Linked DNA regions of Homo sapiens: region 1 is linked to region 2. Evidence: promoter capture Hi-C in 16 types of primary human blood cells and fetal thymus (Javierre and others, 2016). All regions are on one chromosome and are shown on one strand. The core of a region is centred on a gene start or on the middle of the fragment in contact, and the rest is flanking DNA. Distances in the headings are between cores, read along the strand shown. Region 1 overlaps GYS1 (glycogen synthase 1). Region 2 holds the start of RASIP1 (Ras interacting protein 1).

Region 1 (2,700 bases), core at 175-2,674, 240 kb before region 2:
CATTCTGGGAGTTGTAGTCCCTTTGCCAATGTTGGGTGCAGACAGCGTACCCTTGAGACAAGGGGTCTTTGGAAACTATGTCCAGGACCTGGGAACATGAAAACTTCAGTCTGTCCAATCTAACCCTGCCAGGACTTAGATGGTTGGCCAAAAAATCCTCAGTTCCTGTCAACCCCTGAGGAGGCAGTCACTTGAGCCCAGGAGTTCAAGACCAGCCTGGGCTGCCTCAGGGATTTACAGGTCCCTGTCCGGTTGGGATTGCTGCAGTGGGCCGCTGCCCACTCTGTGCAGTAGTGGTGACAGATTGACCTCTCCCCGAGTCCTTGTCCCTACTGGGGATTGCCGATTCTTTTCCCAACACTCGTGGAGACAGTGGCCCTGTCCCTGTTGCCCACAGTTCCTGGCACAGAGTGAGGAGAAGCCACATGTGGTTGCTCACTTCCATGAGTGGTTGGCAGGCGTTGGACTCTGCCTGTGTCGTGCCCGGCGACTGCCTGTAGCAACCATCTTCACCACCCATGCCACGCTGCTGGGGCGCTACCTGTGTGCCGGTGCCGTGGACTTCTACAACAACCTGGAGAACGTGAGCTGGGACCGTGGCAGATGGGGGACTGCGAGTATGCCAGGAAAACCCAAAGCTCTGGGGGGCCCAAGGGGATGGCACCCCCTCTTCTCCCAGGATCCAGGAGTCCAAGTCCCCAGACCCCTCCTACCTCAGACCCAGGAATCCAGCCCCCAGCACCAATTTCTCTTGGGACCCCAGTGTCTGGACCTCCAGAGTCTTCTCCCCAATCCTTCTAACCGGACTGCTGTCCCCTCCCACCCAGTTCAACGTGGACAAGGAAGCAGGGGAGAGGCAGATCTACCACCGATACTGCATGGAAAGGGCGGCAGCCCACTGCGCTCACGTCTTCACTACTGTGTCCCAGATCACCGCCATCGAGGCACAGCACTTGCTCAAGAGGAAACCAGGTAGGGGCTGGGCTGAAGTCCCCAGACGTGAATGAGGTAGGCAGCTGTCTATGCCAAAGCCAGTTGCTCCTCAGCCCAAGAAGCCCACTGTAAGTTGAAATAGCATAAACCGAAAACGTATTTCGGCTGGGCATGGTGGCTCACACCTGTAATCTCAGCACTTTGAGAGGCCAAGGCAGGAGAACCACTTGAGCCCGGGAATTTGAGACCAGCCTGGGCAACATGGCGAATCCCTGTCTAAAATATTCGCCAGACATGGTGTGTGCCTGTATCCCTAGCTACTCAGGAGGCTGAGGTGGGAGGATTGCTCGAGCCTAGGAGGTCAAGGGTGCAGTGAGCTGTGATCGTGCCATTGCATGATTTGGGTGGCCTGGAGAGACCCTGTCACAGCCTGGGTGACACAGTGAGACCCTGTCTCAAAAAATAAAAAAATGCATTTAATACACCTAACCTACTGAACATCATAGCTTAGGCTAGTATACCTTAAATGTGCCCAGAACACTTTATGTTAGCCTACGACTGGGCAAAATCATCCAATACAAATCTGTTTTATTTTATTTTTATTTATTTATTTATTTTTGAGACGGAGTCTCGCTCTGTCGCCCAGGCTGGAGTGCAGTGGCGCTATCTTGGCTCACTGTAAGCTCCGCCTCCCAGGTTCATGCCATTCTCCTGCCTCAGCCTCCCAAGTAGCTGGGACTATACGCGCCTGCCACCACGCCTGGCTAATTTTAATACAAACCTATTTTATAATAAAGTGTTGAATAGGCTGGGCGCAGTGGCTCACACCTGTAATCCCAACACTTTGGGAGGCCAAGGCGGGCAGATCACGAGGTCAGGAGATCGAGACCAGCCTGGCCAACATGGCGAAACTCCATCTCTACTAAAAATACAAAAATTAGCCGGGCGTGGTGGTGGGTGCCTGTAATCCCAGCTACTCGGGAGGCTGAGGCAGGAGAATCACTTGAACCCAGGAGGCGGAGGTTGCAGTGGGCCGAGATCACACCACTGCACTCCAGCCTGGACAACAGAGCGAGACTCCATCTCAAAAAATTAAAAAAAAAAAGTGTTGAATATCTCATCAAAATCCAAAATTGGACTCATGTGGATGTATGTAACTTTCACACCATCATAAGGTTGAAAAATCATAACTTGGCTGGGCACGGTGGCTTACACCTGTAATCCCAGCACTTTGGAAGGCTGAGGTGGGCAGATCACCTGAGGTCATGTGCTCAAGACCAGCCTGGCCAACATTGTGAGACCCCCTCTCTGCCAAAAATACAAAAATTAGGTGGGCATGGTGGCAGGCGCCTGTAATCCCAGCCACCCAGCTACTCGGGAGGCTGAGGCAGGAGAATCTCTTGAACCCAGGAGGCAGAGGTTGTCGTGAGCCAAGATTGTGCCATTGCACTCCAGCCTGGGCAACAAGAGCGAAACTCTGTCTCGAAAAGAAAAATCATAACTTGGACCATCCTAAGTCCTAAGCTGGGGACCATCAGTTACCATTTTTTTACCTAAAGAATAGAGAACTACAGCTCCCAGAAGGCTGTGGGGGTGGTGACCTGTATTTGAGGCTCTCTGACTATATACTCTGGAGGCTAATGGGAGGTATAATTTCTTTCATATTAATTTCAGATATGATAAAATTCTGTAATTGGCTAATGTAGATTGGTCTTATGAAAGGGAATGGAAGATCAGTGGACTTTGCTTTTGAGAAAGGTTAGGTCA
Region 2 (2,700 bases), core at 88-2,587:
CTAGGTTTGGGGGAACAATACGGAGACCTTGGTGTCCAAGGGGAAAGAGGCCACCCTGACCAAGCCCATGGTGGGTCCAGAGGATGCAGGCAGCTACCGCTGCGAGCTGGGCTCTGTGAATTCCAGCCCAGCCACGATCATCAATTTTCACGTCACAGGTCAGTGCTGTGGGGCTGAGAGAAGTGTAGGATTCAGGGCCCAGGAAAGCTGGGGTCCGCGGCGGGGGCGTGGCCTTGGCGATGGGGGCGTGACTTCCTGTTGGGTGTGGTTTCGGGGCACGGGGTGTGGCTTCCTGCCGGGGGCGTGGCCTCTGGCCCCGAGGACAGGGGTTCCCTTGGGTGTGTTCAGGCTTGACACTGTTGAAGGCGTGATTATCTCTGGGATGGCCGGCTACTGGGACGGGCTTGTCTTTGCCAGGGCAGGAACTCCACGCCCTGCCAGGACTGCTCTTTACGCTTTCTCTAACAGTGTTGCCCAAAATGATCAAGGAGGAAAAACCTTCTCCAAATATCGTAACCCCGGGGGAGGCGACCACGGAGTCGTCCATAAGCCTCCAGCCTCTGCAGCCCGAGAAAATGCTGGCAAGCCGCCTTCTGGGGCTGCTGATCTGCGGCTCCCTAGCACTGATAACCGGCCTTACCTTTGCGTAAGCAACCCATTGAAGAAGACAGGCTTGGCTTGGAGTAAGGGGCGGGGCTTCCAGGAACCCAACACAGAAGCTGGTCTGGGGGCTACTGAGGCCTGAGAGCAGGACTTTCCTGGGGATGGAGTGCGGGGGGCTTGAATAGGAGGACTTCGAAGGGCGAGGCTTAGGTAATTGCTAGAATAAGGTCACAAAGGGGGAGGTTGGGAGGGGTGTCCCCCACACAATTAGTACCCAAACCGGTTCCATGATCTGCACCCCACTCCCACCCCTAGGATATTTCGTCGAAGGAAGGTGATCGATTTCATCAAATCCTCACTGTTTGGCCTTGGCAGTGGAGCGGCCGAGCAAACCCAGGTCCCAAAAGAAAAGGCCACAGATTCGAGGCAACAATAAAGATTTATCTTGTTGTCTAAGCATCTGACTCACTCCCCGGGACGGGACTGATTCTAGCCTTTGGTTCCCCGAGAGGAGAGGTCTGGGGATGGGCTCCGGCCTGAGGGAGGAAGGGCAGAAAACCGGGACCCTTGGGTCCTGGAGGGGACCAACTGACTGCGATGTAATTCCAGAATCAAGGAATGGGGCAGGGCCAACCCTACCCAGATCTCCTCCCCCAGGCCTGGTCTCCTCACAGGACGCCCCCTCCCCGCTCTTCCTGCCGGGTTTCCTCTTGCCTTTTCCTGTCCCCCACCCAGTGCTGGGAGCCGTGGCAGAGGCAAGAGCAGTGGAACTGACCCAGGCCAGTGGAGCCAGGGCCTCCGGGTGTGCCGGACCCGAAGCAGGGTAAGAGCCAGGGACCCAGCAGCCCAAACCCCTCCTCCCTGGGCCCCAAGACTCAGTCCCCCAGCCATCTTCCATCCCAGGACCCAGGAATCCAGGGTACCATCCCTCTCCTCCCCCTGGACTCGCAAGTCTGAGCCCCAGCCCCCTCCTCCCTCTGACTCGGAGTCCAGGTTCCCTCCACCCCATCCCCACAAGAATGCCTTAGGAGTTGGGGCCTTACCCGCCTTCCCTTAGGGCCATGCTGTCTGGTGAACGGAAGGAGGGCGGAAGCCCCCGCTTCGGGAAGCTTCATCTCCCCGTGGGCCTGTGGATCAATTCCCCCAGGAAGCAGCTGGCGAAGCTGGGGCGGCGCTGGCCCAGCGCAGCCTCTGTCAAGTGAGTGCCATCTCTGCAGGACTCCTGCCCCTGCACACCTGCTTCCCATCTGTCCCTGTTCACTGCCCAGTCCCTGCAAAGTGTTGGCTCCGGTCCTCATCCTGAATTGGGCAAACGAGCTGGTGGGCAGGGGGAGACGGTGGGGCACAGTGATACCAGGGCGCGGTGGGAGTAAGAGCTAGGCTAGGAGGTGGAGTGAGGCCGGATGGGCACGGGGACGGGGACAGAAGGAGCAGGGGGATTGATTCACCTTCCTTCCTCCCCTCCCTGCTCACCTCTTGGAATTTCCTACTGTGGGACTTGCCTTTATTTATTTATTTTTTCTCTCTCTCTTTGCCTCGCGTCTGTCCCCACCCTCACCCCCGCCCCGTCCATCCACCCTGGGTCCCTGTCCTCCCTCTGGGTCTCTGCCCACTTCCCTCCTAATATGCCCCCACCCCCGTCTTGGCGTGTCGTCCTGGGTCTCTCTCCCGCGACTCTGTTCCCCGGCGGACTCCCAGGTCTTCTTCGTCGGACACGGGGAGCCGCAGCAGCGAGCCGCTACCTCCGCCCCCGCCGCACGTGGAGCTGCGGCGAGTGGGCGCTGTCAAGGCGGCCGGGGGAGCCTCCGGTAGCCGCGCCAAGCGCATCTCCCAGCTCTTCCGGGGCTCGGGGACCGGGACCACGGGGTCCAGCGGCGCAGGAGGCCCTGGGACCCCGGGGGGCGCGCAGCGCTGGGCCAGCGAGAAGAAGCTGCCGGAGCTGGCGGCGGGCGTGGCCCCCGAGCCCCCGCTGGCTACCCGCGCCACGGCGCCTCCGGGGGTCCTCAAGATCTTCGGCGCCGGACTGGCATCGGGCGCCAACTACAAGAGCGTGCTGGCCACGGCGCGCTCCACGGCGCGCGAGCTCGTGGCCGAGGC

The links. The method cuts DNA at HindIII sites, captures the fragments that hold promoters and counts their contacts. A CHiCAGO score of 5 or more calls a contact.
Region 1: a contact is called between a fragment that was not itself captured here and the fragment with the promoter of RASIP1 in region 2, in 12 of 17 cell types (M2 macrophages, megakaryocytes, endothelial precursors and 9 more). The highest score is 7.7, in M2 macrophages.

Annotation. Positions count from the first base shown.
Region 1 is chr19:48,983,733-48,986,432 of GRCh38, reverse strand. It overlaps GYS1 (glycogen synthase 1), which reads left to right. Exons shown (of 16, transcript NM_002103.5): 4 at 398-583; 5 at 828-972. Among named protein-coding and RNA genes, the nearest start is that of GYS1, 8.2 kb to the left of the region's middle. The HindIII fragment of the contact is 2,950 bases long and covers 1-2,700 here.
Region 2 is chr19:48,739,247-48,741,946 of GRCh38, reverse strand. RASIP1 (Ras interacting protein 1) reads left to right here and starts at 1,337. Exons shown (of 12, transcript NM_017805.3): 1 at 1,337-1,426; 2 at 1,661-1,801; 3 at 2,302-2,700. The coding sequence starts at 1,665. It overlaps IZUMO1 (izumo sperm-oocyte fusion 1), which reads left to right. Exons shown (of 10, transcript NM_182575.3): 8 at 5-158; 9 at 469-646; 10 at 919-1,095. The coding sequence ends at 1,039. RefSeq lists a cis regulatory region at 59-1,484, an enhancer at 2,545-2,700 and a silencer at 2,602-2,700. The HindIII fragment of the contact is 9,865 bases long and covers 1-1,714 here.